Regions from separate parts of the Homo sapiens genome. Here region 2 is linked to region 1. Evidence: promoter capture Hi-C in human tissues and cell types (Jung and others, 2019). All regions are on one chromosome and are shown on one strand. Each heading gives the region's core, a stretch centred on a gene start or on the middle of the fragment in contact. The rest is flanking DNA. Distances are from core to core; before and after follow the strand shown. Region 1 holds the start of FOXD3 (forkhead box D3). Region 2 has its middle 47 kb from the start of LINC01739.

Evidence for each region. Contacts are between HindIII fragments. The study calls those that stand out against the background at their distance.
Region 2: a fragment that was not itself captured here is called in contact with the fragment with the promoter of FOXD3 in region 1 in 1 of the 25 tissues and cell types used here (stomach).

The regions. Positions count from the first base shown.
Region 1 is chr1:63,319,597-63,324,614 of GRCh38, reverse strand. FOXD3 (forkhead box D3) reads right to left here and starts at 2,048. Exons shown (of 1, transcript NM_012183.3): 1 at 1-2,048. The coding sequence starts at 1,556. The coding sequence ends at 120. FOXD3-AS1 (FOXD3 antisense RNA 1) reads left to right here and starts at 174. Exons shown (of 3, transcript NR_121637.1): 1 at 174-260; 2 at 3,152-3,248; 3 at 3,425-3,731. RefSeq lists an enhancer at 918-1,607 and silencers at 1,931-2,010, 2,131-2,440. The HindIII fragment of the contact is 29,021 bases long and covers 1-5,018 here.
Region 2 is chr1:62,962,835-62,967,852 of GRCh38, reverse strand. No RefSeq gene overlaps it. Among named protein-coding and RNA genes, the nearest start is that of LINC01739, 47 kb to the left of the region's middle. RefSeq lists an enhancer at 660-1,160. The HindIII fragment of the contact is 3,654 bases long and covers 1,140-4,793 here.

The sequences.
Region 1 (5,018 bases), core at 799-3,298:
CAGAGTCCAGGATTGGGCAGCGGGACCGGGACCGGGCTTGGGACAGGGCGCGCAGCCTGGAGGTGCATTTGTTGCTCGAGGCCGCCGCCGGACCCTGGGTCCCGGCCATTGGCGCGTCCCTATTGCGCCGGCCATTTGGCTTGAGCGGCGGCCGCAGCAGCGGCGGCGGCCGAGGCTGCGGGCTGCAGAAACTGTCCGGAGAGTGGCACGCTAAGAATGGGCGCGATGGTGGCAGTCGTCCGGCTCAGCGACAGCGGTTGGTGGGTGGCCATGAGCGCTGCCGACTGCACGGTCCCGGGTGGCCGCAGAAACGACTGCGCCGTGCTGCCGCCCCCTGAACCCCCAGTGCCGCCGGCGACCCCAGCGCCCACCGCCGAGCCCCCAGGAGCCGCGGGGCCCCCACCTATGATGTTCTCGATGCTGAACGACGGCCGCGCGCTTGGCTCGGACTTGATGAGCGACGCGGTGGTGCCCGCGGCGCCCGCTGTGCCCGCAGCGGCCGCGGCGGCGCCCAGGCTATTGAGCTGCAGCTGCAGGCCCGGGCCGAGCTGTGAGCCGAAGGCGGCCGCTTTGCGGCCCAGCTCGCCCGAGGGCAGCAGCGGCACAGCGGGAGGCAGCACCGGTGCCACCGGCGGCAGCGCGTACGGGTACTGGAGCGCCGCCGCAGCAGCCGCGGCCGCCGCCGCTGCCGGGTGCGAATAGGCACCGGCCGCCGCCGCAGGGTGCAGGCCGTAGGGGCGGCCGTAGGGTCCCGCGGCGCCGGCCGCCGCCGCCAGGCTGTAAGCGCCGAAGCTCTGCATCATGAGCGCCGTCTGCTCGCGCAGGTGCTCCTGCTGGTGGCGCTTGAAGCGTTTCCGGCGCCGCAGGAAGCTGCCGTTGTCGAACATGTCCTCGGACTGCGGGTCCAGGGTCCAGTAGTTGCCCTTGCCCGGGTTGCCCGGCTCGCGGGGGATCTTGACGAAGCAGTCGTTGAGTGAGAGGTTGTGGCGGATGCTGTTCTGCCAGGCGGGGAACTTCTCCCTGTAGTAGGGGAAGCGGTTGCTGATGAACTCGCAGATGCCGCTCAGGGTCAGCTTCTTCTGCGGGCTCTGCAGGATGGCCATGGTGATGAGCGCGATGTACGAGTAAGGCGGCTTCACTAGGCTGTTCTTGGGCTTGCTCGGGGCCAGGCCTCCCGCCGAACCGCTGCCCGCGCCAGGCCCGCCGCCGCTCGCGCCGCCCTCCTCGCCGCCAACACCGCCCTTGCAGCCGTCCGCCTCCGGCGCGCCCACGTCGCCCCCCGGTCCGGCCCCGGCTCCGGCCGCCTCCTTGGGCAATGTCAGGGGCTGCTGGTGGGGCGGCTGAGGCTGTCCGTGATGGGGTGCCGCCGGGGGCACCTCGTCCGCCTCGTCCAGGCGCAGCTCCGGCGGCCCCGCGGGGCTATCGCAACCTGCGTCGCTGTCCTTCTCTTCCAGCCCGTCGTCGCCCTCGCCCACCACATCGATGTCCACGTCCTCGGCCGTCAGCACCGTCTGGCCGGACATGTCGCTGGCGCTGCCGCCGCCGGAGAGGGTCATCCCTCCTCGGGGTTGGTAGCGGCGGCGGGGAGGGGGCAGCGGGCGATGAGGGTGTTCGGGGGCTGCCACGGAGCTCAGGGGAAGAGGGTTTGAGTGCCCCCGAAAGATGGGGGGCAGGGAGAGGGGAGGGGGCCGCAGGTGGCTTGGGGCCCGCTGGGCTCAGCTCACACTCGGCGGCCCCGCATCGCGTGGCGCGGGCTCTGCCGTCCGCCCCCAGCGGCCGCGCTCCGCGAACTCCTGCCGTCCCTGGCGCTCGGTACTAGGCGCTCGCTACCGCTCCCGGCCCCGGCGGTTCTCCACGCCGCGCCCCCTCACTTAGCCCGCCTTCCTCGGCCTCTGGCCCTGGCGTGGGGCGCAGGAGCGGTCCAGGCGGGCGCGGGACGCCGGGCGCCGAGCAGCTCGGGAGGGCGCGGGCAGGGACAGTAGCGGGGGGGCAGGGGGCTGGGTGTCAGGGACGCCGAAGCCCCGGTAGTCGAAAGTCCCGTTTTAAGGACTGGCCTGATAGATTACTTTCTACTTAAAGATCCAGCGGGAGGCGGGGCCACGTGACCGTGCGTGACGTCAGGGCCGCGGCCGAGCCGGCCAAACTCAAGTTGGTTCAGGGAATTGTCAACAAAGGGACGAGAGACGCGCAACTCCGCTCCGCACTGTGCGCCAGCATCCCCGGGGCACGGAGGGCGCTGCGGCCCGCCCGGAGACCCCCCCACCCAGGCTGGATCCGGGCCCTGGGGCCCAGGGAGCGGGTGGGTGTGAGTGTGGGTGGGTGTGAGCGAGTCAGGGCGTGGGCCTGGGAGCGTCCGCGGGACTGTGCGACTGTCGCTGCCCTGCCTTCCCCGCCCCCTCTCCCTTCCGCCCTTCTCCCCCCCACTTTGTCACACTCCTTAGACAGGGACTGGGCGACCTAGAACGAGGTTCCCATATCGTGTTTTAAAAAGCAAAACTTAGTCTCTGTTTTGCTTTTTGTTTCATTGTTTTTAGCTTTAAAGAGTAAGAGCAGCGCACCCGGCTCCCTCCTGCTAATTAGATTTCAGATTCCCCTCTGGCCTCAGTGCTCATTCCGGGGAAGACACCTGCTGAGATGTCTTTTTCCCCCTCCCCCAACCAAACCACTCAGGTCCTACCTGCTCTTTCCCGGCTTGATGCGGGCGTGTTTTCCTGTATGTATTTTTTCGTGCGGCCACAAAAAGCATCAGCTGGGGTTCCCGAAGGTCAGAAAATGGCTATTGATTAATCTACTAGAATAGTTGCCGAGAGAAATAAAAACGACGTAAAATAGCAGGGAACCTATAAATAAAGAAGCCATAACTGGCTACTTGGAGTTGTTAAACGACTTAGCATATGAAAAAATCGGAAATGAGGCGCTGGGGAAGGAGCTGGGATTGGCAGCGGCCTGGGTAAGTCGAGTGGATCCGGGAAGAGGCCTGGTGTCTTCAGGTTAGACGCAGCGCCCAGGGGCGGCTGAAGAAACGTGAGGGGTGCGGGCAGTGACTTCCCGGGCGGCGGGCATGGCCTTGGGGGAACCTGGGCAGACTTGGGCATGCCAGCATGCTGGGATCTCCGTTGCTGCCAGCTAACGTGGATTTTCTTCTCTTAAGGTGTGGACAAATCCTCCAAGATTTAACTTCCAAGAAAACCGGCGGCGGAGCGGGTGGAGGAGGCGAGGATGTGTGGCCAATGCACGCGGAGTGCAAGGCAAGTCAGTGATAGTAGGAAAAACTGTGGGGATTTCACTGGGACTGGAGGGGGAGGCACCGCAAACCGACCCCCAAGTGCGTGGCTGGGGTGCGTGGACCTCACACCTCCAAGGAAAGTCAGTGCTCTTGACGCGGTGAATCAGCGATGCGCCTCCTCTTTCCTCCCTCATTTAGGCCGCCTAGTTGGGAGCCGCAAGAGCCTGCCTGGTGTGGCAGGCACACGGAACCCAATCCCTGTCTGTCCGCTGCGGCCTGGGAGGGGAGCGCCGGCCTCACCAGAGGAAGGAGCACGAGGGGAGGAGTTCCGAGAGGAAATAATTAGTGAAATATTTGCAGAAGATGCTGGGATGTGGATTTAATTCCGGATGGACAGTGGTGCTTCTGATTCCCTCAGTCTGTTTCCCCACCCACGATCTCCTCTTTCCTTGGCCTAGACACACCAAAAATAATTCAATAAAATAAAAATAAAAATTTAAAAATCTGTAAACTTGCTTCATTACAGGCATTGAGACACACAGATTGACTTTCATCCCCATTAGACAGTTTCCCAGGATATAACACTACTCATCTGAGGCTGGGAGCAGGGTAGGGGGTGGTGACACTATCCTGAGACGCCCGCCAACCTCCACAGTTTTTCTTTATCTAAATGATCCCGAGGTTGCACACGGCCCTAAAACGCATCTCAGAGTTGATTTCCGTAGCTCCACAGCTTTGTGGCCCGCAGGCTCCGAACCGTTTACAATGCCGTCTAGACAGCTTTCCGCGAAACCGACCCGAGCTGAGCTGGCTGGCCATCGCCCAGGACTGCAGAGGTCGCGTCTGCAACTGCCTCAGCAACCGAAGTGTCGGAAGGTCCAAAAAAAAAAAAAAAAAAAGCTAAAAAGCGGAAATTTACACATTCAGGAACCTCCTTTGCTCTGCTTGGGTTGCCCAGCCCTAAAGGCAGGGGCCCGGGGCGCAGCGCTGGCCCTGCCGCGGCCTTGGTGGCTGGGCCCGCGTGGACTAGTATGTGTGGATGCGCGCCGGAGGATGGTGGCTACAGGGCTCCCCTCACCGGTCTCGAAGTAGTCTCCAAATGAGCCTAATTTCGATTCCGCCGTCCGCAGAGGCTAGCTCTCTGGACTCCCTCCACGCTGCTGGTCGCTGCCTCCTACCCTCCCTCTGCCACGGCCCAGCCTGATCCGTCCATTCCCCGGTGTCTCCTTGGAACCTCCCTGGGGAAGGGGGTGGAGGACGAACAACTCCCAGCTGCCGGTTCCATTTGTTGCGCTTTTTTCCTTCGACACAATAAAAGTCAAATTAATTGATTCATACCATTAATTACGGCGCGTAGCGTGAAAAGCAACGCTTCCCCTCGGTTAGAGATCTATTGTGCTAATCTCTTGTTCAATCAGTGTTACCATCTGATGCTGGGTCCGGCCCTTACAGAAACTTTTCGACTCGATTAGCTAAATGATGAGACGTGCACAACCTACTGGCTGCGGCCCCGACGTCCCGCGCCCGCGCCGGCCTAATATCGATTTCCAGCGGAGGCAGAGGATTTTTCCGCGGCCGCTCTCGGCTCAGGAACCGGCCGCCGGCTTTCTCCCTCCAGGCGGACCATAGCGCCTGCACAACCTCCGGGGGCGGGAAGGAGGCGAAGCGGCGGCCGGGGAGGGCGACAGGAAGGTTCCTGCTGGCCTTGACGCAGGAGGCCGCCCCAGCGGAAGGGTCCGATCCCGACGCGGTGCAGGGTCCTGCCGGAGACCGGCTAGATGTCGGGCTAAAT
Region 2 (5,018 bases), core at 1,717-4,216, 360 kb after region 1:
CACAGAGGCCAGAAGCTTGGAGTCCAGTGGGTGGGTTGAGTTCTCTGTGAAAGGGAAGATGGCGTTCTGGGCACAGAGATTTGATGAGGGAAGTAGGGGGTACATGAAGGGCTGGGGGCCTGGATAGGTGACTTGGAAAAGCTGACCAGTGTGACTCCTCCATATGGGGAGTGAGGAAGTACCAGTCAGCTTCCTGCTGCAGAGATGACCCCGGGCCGGCACAGTGGACGAGGGGTTGCTTGGGATCCTCGTTCTTATTCCTCCCCTCCTTTCTGCACATCCTCTCTGAGTCGTGGCCCAATTGCCTTCTTTTCCTAGGAGACAGTTTCTCTTTCAGGCTCACACTGCCCCAAATGCCATCTCTCTTCAATCCAGGAGTGGCCCACTCTGAGCACCGGTATCGTCCACGCCCCCATGTGGGCCTGGGATGCAGATCCTCCCCTTTTGGGTCACGGCCATGAGAAGCAGCCTTGGAAGGCTACCCTGGAAGGCTCCCACTCAGGGACACCAGTTCACAGGAAGGCTACTGCACCCATCAGAGAGTGGAGATGCAGCTGTAGGGTATAGGGTAGCGGGCCTTGAGGACCCGCCGGGCGGCTGCCTGGAGCTGGAAGGAGGCTCACTTACAGAGCCTGTCATCCTGGTTCAGGACGCTGGGGCAGATGCTGGGGCCCGCTAGCCGCTCTCCTGGGCCATCGTCCCACTGGGGGGATTAGCTGAAGGATACAAGTGGCGTGGAGCCAGTCCTGGGATCCCCAGGCCCCCTTCCAACTCTTGATGATCCATATGAAAAGGTGGCAGTGACTCAGGGAAGGTGGGTGATGCTGTGAGGGAAATGAGCCATTTACAAAACGAAGGTCTCCCCGCAGGCGGAGGCCAAGCCACAGAGGAGAACGAATCCCTCTTTGCTTCATGGACATGGCTCTTTCTCTGAACAATCTGTGCTCCGGACCAGGACATTCCTGTTAGCGGTGTCCTGTGGGACCCTAGTTGTCCCACATTTACGCCTGTGGGCCTTGCTGCTGGGGATGACACAGTCTGCTTACCAGGGACCTGACCCAGAGAGGTACAAGAGGACAGTCGTCTACACAGGGCCCCTCTTTGCACGAGGCCACACTTTAAGGGTAAGAGCAATAACAGCTCTCAATTTATTAAGCATTTGAGGTGAGGCATCTGCTAGGCCATTTACATGTTCAGTCATTCCTCTGTATCCCCAGGGGATTGGTTCAAGAACCCCAGGGATACCAAGATATAGATGCTCAAGTCCCCAATATCAAATGGTATAGTATTTGCATGTAACCTACATGCTTCCTCCCATATATTAAATCATCTCTGGCTGGGCGCGGTGGCTCATGCCTGTAATCCCAGCACTTTGGGATGCTGAGGCGGGCAGATCACCTGAGGTCAGGAATTCAAGACCAGCCTGACAAACATGGAGAAACCCCATCTCTACTAAAAATACAAAATTAGCCAGGCGTGGTAGTGCATGCCTGTAATCCCAGTAATTCGGGAGGCTGAGGCAGGAGAATCCCTTGAACCTGGGAGGCGGAGGTTGCAGTGAGCCAAGATCGTGCCATTGCACTCCAGCCTGGGCAACAAGAGCGAAACTCCTTCTCAAAAAAAAAAAAAAATCATCTCTAGATTTCTAATAATACCTATTACAACGTAAATACTATGTAAATAGCTGCTACATTGTTTTTAAAATTTGTATTAATTTTTGTTGTTGTATTATTATTTGTTCCTTTTTTCTGAATATTTTTCATCAGCAGGTAGTTGAATCCATGGATCTGAAACGTACAGATACAGAGGACCAACTGTATGCTTTCTAATCTTTATAACTGAGGCTCATGACTGGGAAATGGAAGGGGAGGATCCAAATTCAGACCCATGTGACTGGCATACTCCATCCATTGTGTGACACCTTTCTCCTTTCTCCGAGAAAGATAGGGAAAGAGCTAGAGACAATCTGGTGGCCTTTGATACCCCCTTTGATAGAATGTGGGCCTGGGCTCACATGGTGTCAGGTGCTTACCCCATTCTATCCATTCTTGCCGCATGGTCTGATGGGAAGAATGCAGGGGATACACCATGTTGAAGGGCCCAGGGTTTAGCTTCTGTCCCCACCAGTGAAATGTGCAACCCTGGGCAAACATAGTGTCAACTGTAAAATCAGGATAATAATACCTACTCAATTTATGTCAAAACAGAAGGAATGAGTTTACAAACGATGCTCCCTGGAAGCCTAGGATGGAGTTTCTCAAGCTTCGGAATGCATAAAAACCACCTTGTGTGGGCTTGTTAAAATGCAGATGCCCAGGCCTCAACTCCGAGATTGGAATCAGCGGGGCAATATGAAGCCACGGAATCTGCATTCTGTGGATGAGAGACAGCAGGTGTGGAGAAGCCCGGACCTAGGCTGCATGGCGGCGCCTCCAGGGTGGGTGGGAAGCGAGGGAGTCCATGGGTGGGATTCAGAGTCTCTCAGCCCAGCTTCACCTAGAACTGTTCTGTTTGTAGCTCCATTATATATTGAGGTTTCAAGTAAGATTTCATTTAAAGGACGATTACATGATTTAAACATTAAAAAAAAATGTTAAAGATTGCAATGCATCGCCACACATGAAAATGCTTTGGGTAAGTGAAAGGTGCTCTCCAGATGAGAGCAATTTTACTAAAACTGTGGCCATCTGAAACCCTCTGGGAATGAATCATTCTGGAGAGCCTAATCTTCCTGATAACATTAAAACTTTTTATTAAATGTTAATCGTTTTGTGGGAAATATGTTACACTCTTCCTTGCCTTTTAAAAGAGAGAATAAAGAACATAATTTAACTGTTGTTTGAAAACTCAGGACCACCAATTGGATACTGTGAGGCCATCCCAAAAGTGAGTCCTGCCAAGCTTGACATGGAAAGTGCATCCATGGGATTCCACTATTCGTGTCCCCTACTCAGGCCACGGTTTATATAACACCAAGTGGAGGCAGAGCAATGTGGTGAAAACAGGGGGCACTGGAGAATCAGGAGGATGAGCTCCAGCCTCCACAGTGGCAACCGAGGGCCACAGAACCCAGAGGAAGTCCTCTCGCCTGGCCCTGCTTTCTTTATCCATAAGGCAAGAGGCTAAACCAAGCCGTCACCTGAAGAGGGGTCCAGTCTCTAAGGTGGGGGTTGCAAACTCCATGGCTGTCAGGGGCCAGGCTGGTGGTGCTTGGGGAGAATGGGAGAGCAAAAGCCCAGCTGGGGCGCAGCCACCGCTTCACACCAGCAGACTGCCGATGTGAGAGTGACAGCCCACTGCTATCAGGTCTTCTAAGTTGCCCAGAAAAGCTGGACTTTCTTGTGAAAGCTCTGGATTCCTTCCATGTTGGCACCTGTGAAGGATATGGGGGTGCTGGCTCCCACATTCCCCCTCTTTTTCTGGGTGGCCTTTTGTCCTTCAGAGACCACAACATCAAATACCACATTTCTCATTTCCTTACAGCTAGGGTTTTGGATGCAAATCAGTTTGCGTCAATGAGAGTAAGTCATAGTTTTGAAAGGCAACGTAAGGCAGAAGCTGTCTTCTGACTCCCTATCCAGAGCCTGAGCTGCCAGGAAGTGTGGGAAACACAGGTCAAATAAAACCCATCTGTGGGCACCACTGAGCCCGAGGTCTCTTCTGGCTCTAACACTTGTAAGACAGGGGAGTAGCAGGGTAGACAGCCCTCAGGTGGCTGACCTGCAAGGGGCCACCTACACCCACTGGGTCTTTTTCTTCAAATGCCTCTTCAGCCTCCAACTCCACCCCTGAGGGGCACGTGTTTGTTCACTGACCCAGTAGAATCCAAGCTCTGGCGTTCTCGCCTGGACTCCATTGCCCAACTTTTTCCCATAAGGAGGATTAAGGACACACGATTCTGTTTCCCAAAACAGGACAGAGATTGCGACCCTTCGGGCAGGGTCCTGCCAGGGCAGTTGGCATATGGAGTCCCTGCAGCTTTCTCCATCCCTTTCAGCATGTTCCAAAGGGAGCAGCTGGGGGCTTCGTACCAAGGGCTCAAGTTTCCAACCCTGTTACTCTTAAGCTGCCCAAACCGAATTGTATCTGCCTAAGTGGTATGTGGGTAGGGAGGATTTAGGCATGTTTGTGGGGACAAATTTCATGAGCACCCTTTTTGCACATAATAGCTGTTACTTACCAAGGACCCACTGTGTGCCATTTCTAATCCTCACAACCACCCTGAGGGGCAGACATCACTGCCTCCATTTTACAGATGAGGTAACTGAGGCTTGCAAAGGTTAGTGACTTCTCTAGGGTCCCACAGATAGTAAGTGTCAGAGCCAGAATTCAAAGGCAAACTCCTTCTCTTTATTGTTCTTGATGAACCAGGGCTGGGTTACTCTTGGACCCAGAGCAAGCAGATTCTTTTCAAAGGCGTCCAGGCCCCTGGGTGAGCCTGCCAGTGAGTTAGGTAATGTGATCCTGCCTCCTAGTGGTCAGGTCGGTGGCTCAGTTCCTCACACTAGGGCAGGAAGCCTCTCCCGTCTCCCGCCGTCCCAGGGGTCCTGGCAGCTGGTTATTTCAAGAAGTGGGCTTGGCCACTCTGGGACAGTGAGGCCTGGGAGCAAGTGAAAGCAGCTGGCTCCTGTTCTCAGGCCCCTCACCTCTCACCCGGGGAGTGGCAGCCACAGCCCCAGGCCCTCCGCCCACATCAGTCCTGGTCAGATAGAACATTAGGCACATTGACCCCCTCCCCATGTGCAGGGCATCTGCTTAACTTTTTACATCTGTTGCCTTAGTTCCCACTCCCTCTCCCAGGTGGCGATTAACTACTATCTCTTATTATTCAGCCACCCGGAACTTGGCATGAGAAACTGCTCAAGAATTACACTTTGGAGGGTGGGGCTGGGGACACTATATTTATCCTTATCTGAACAGTTTAATCACCTTGAGACCTTTTCTTTAGTAATAATCACACACACACACACACACACACACAGTCCCATTAAACCTCACAATCTTTTTTCAATTCAGCA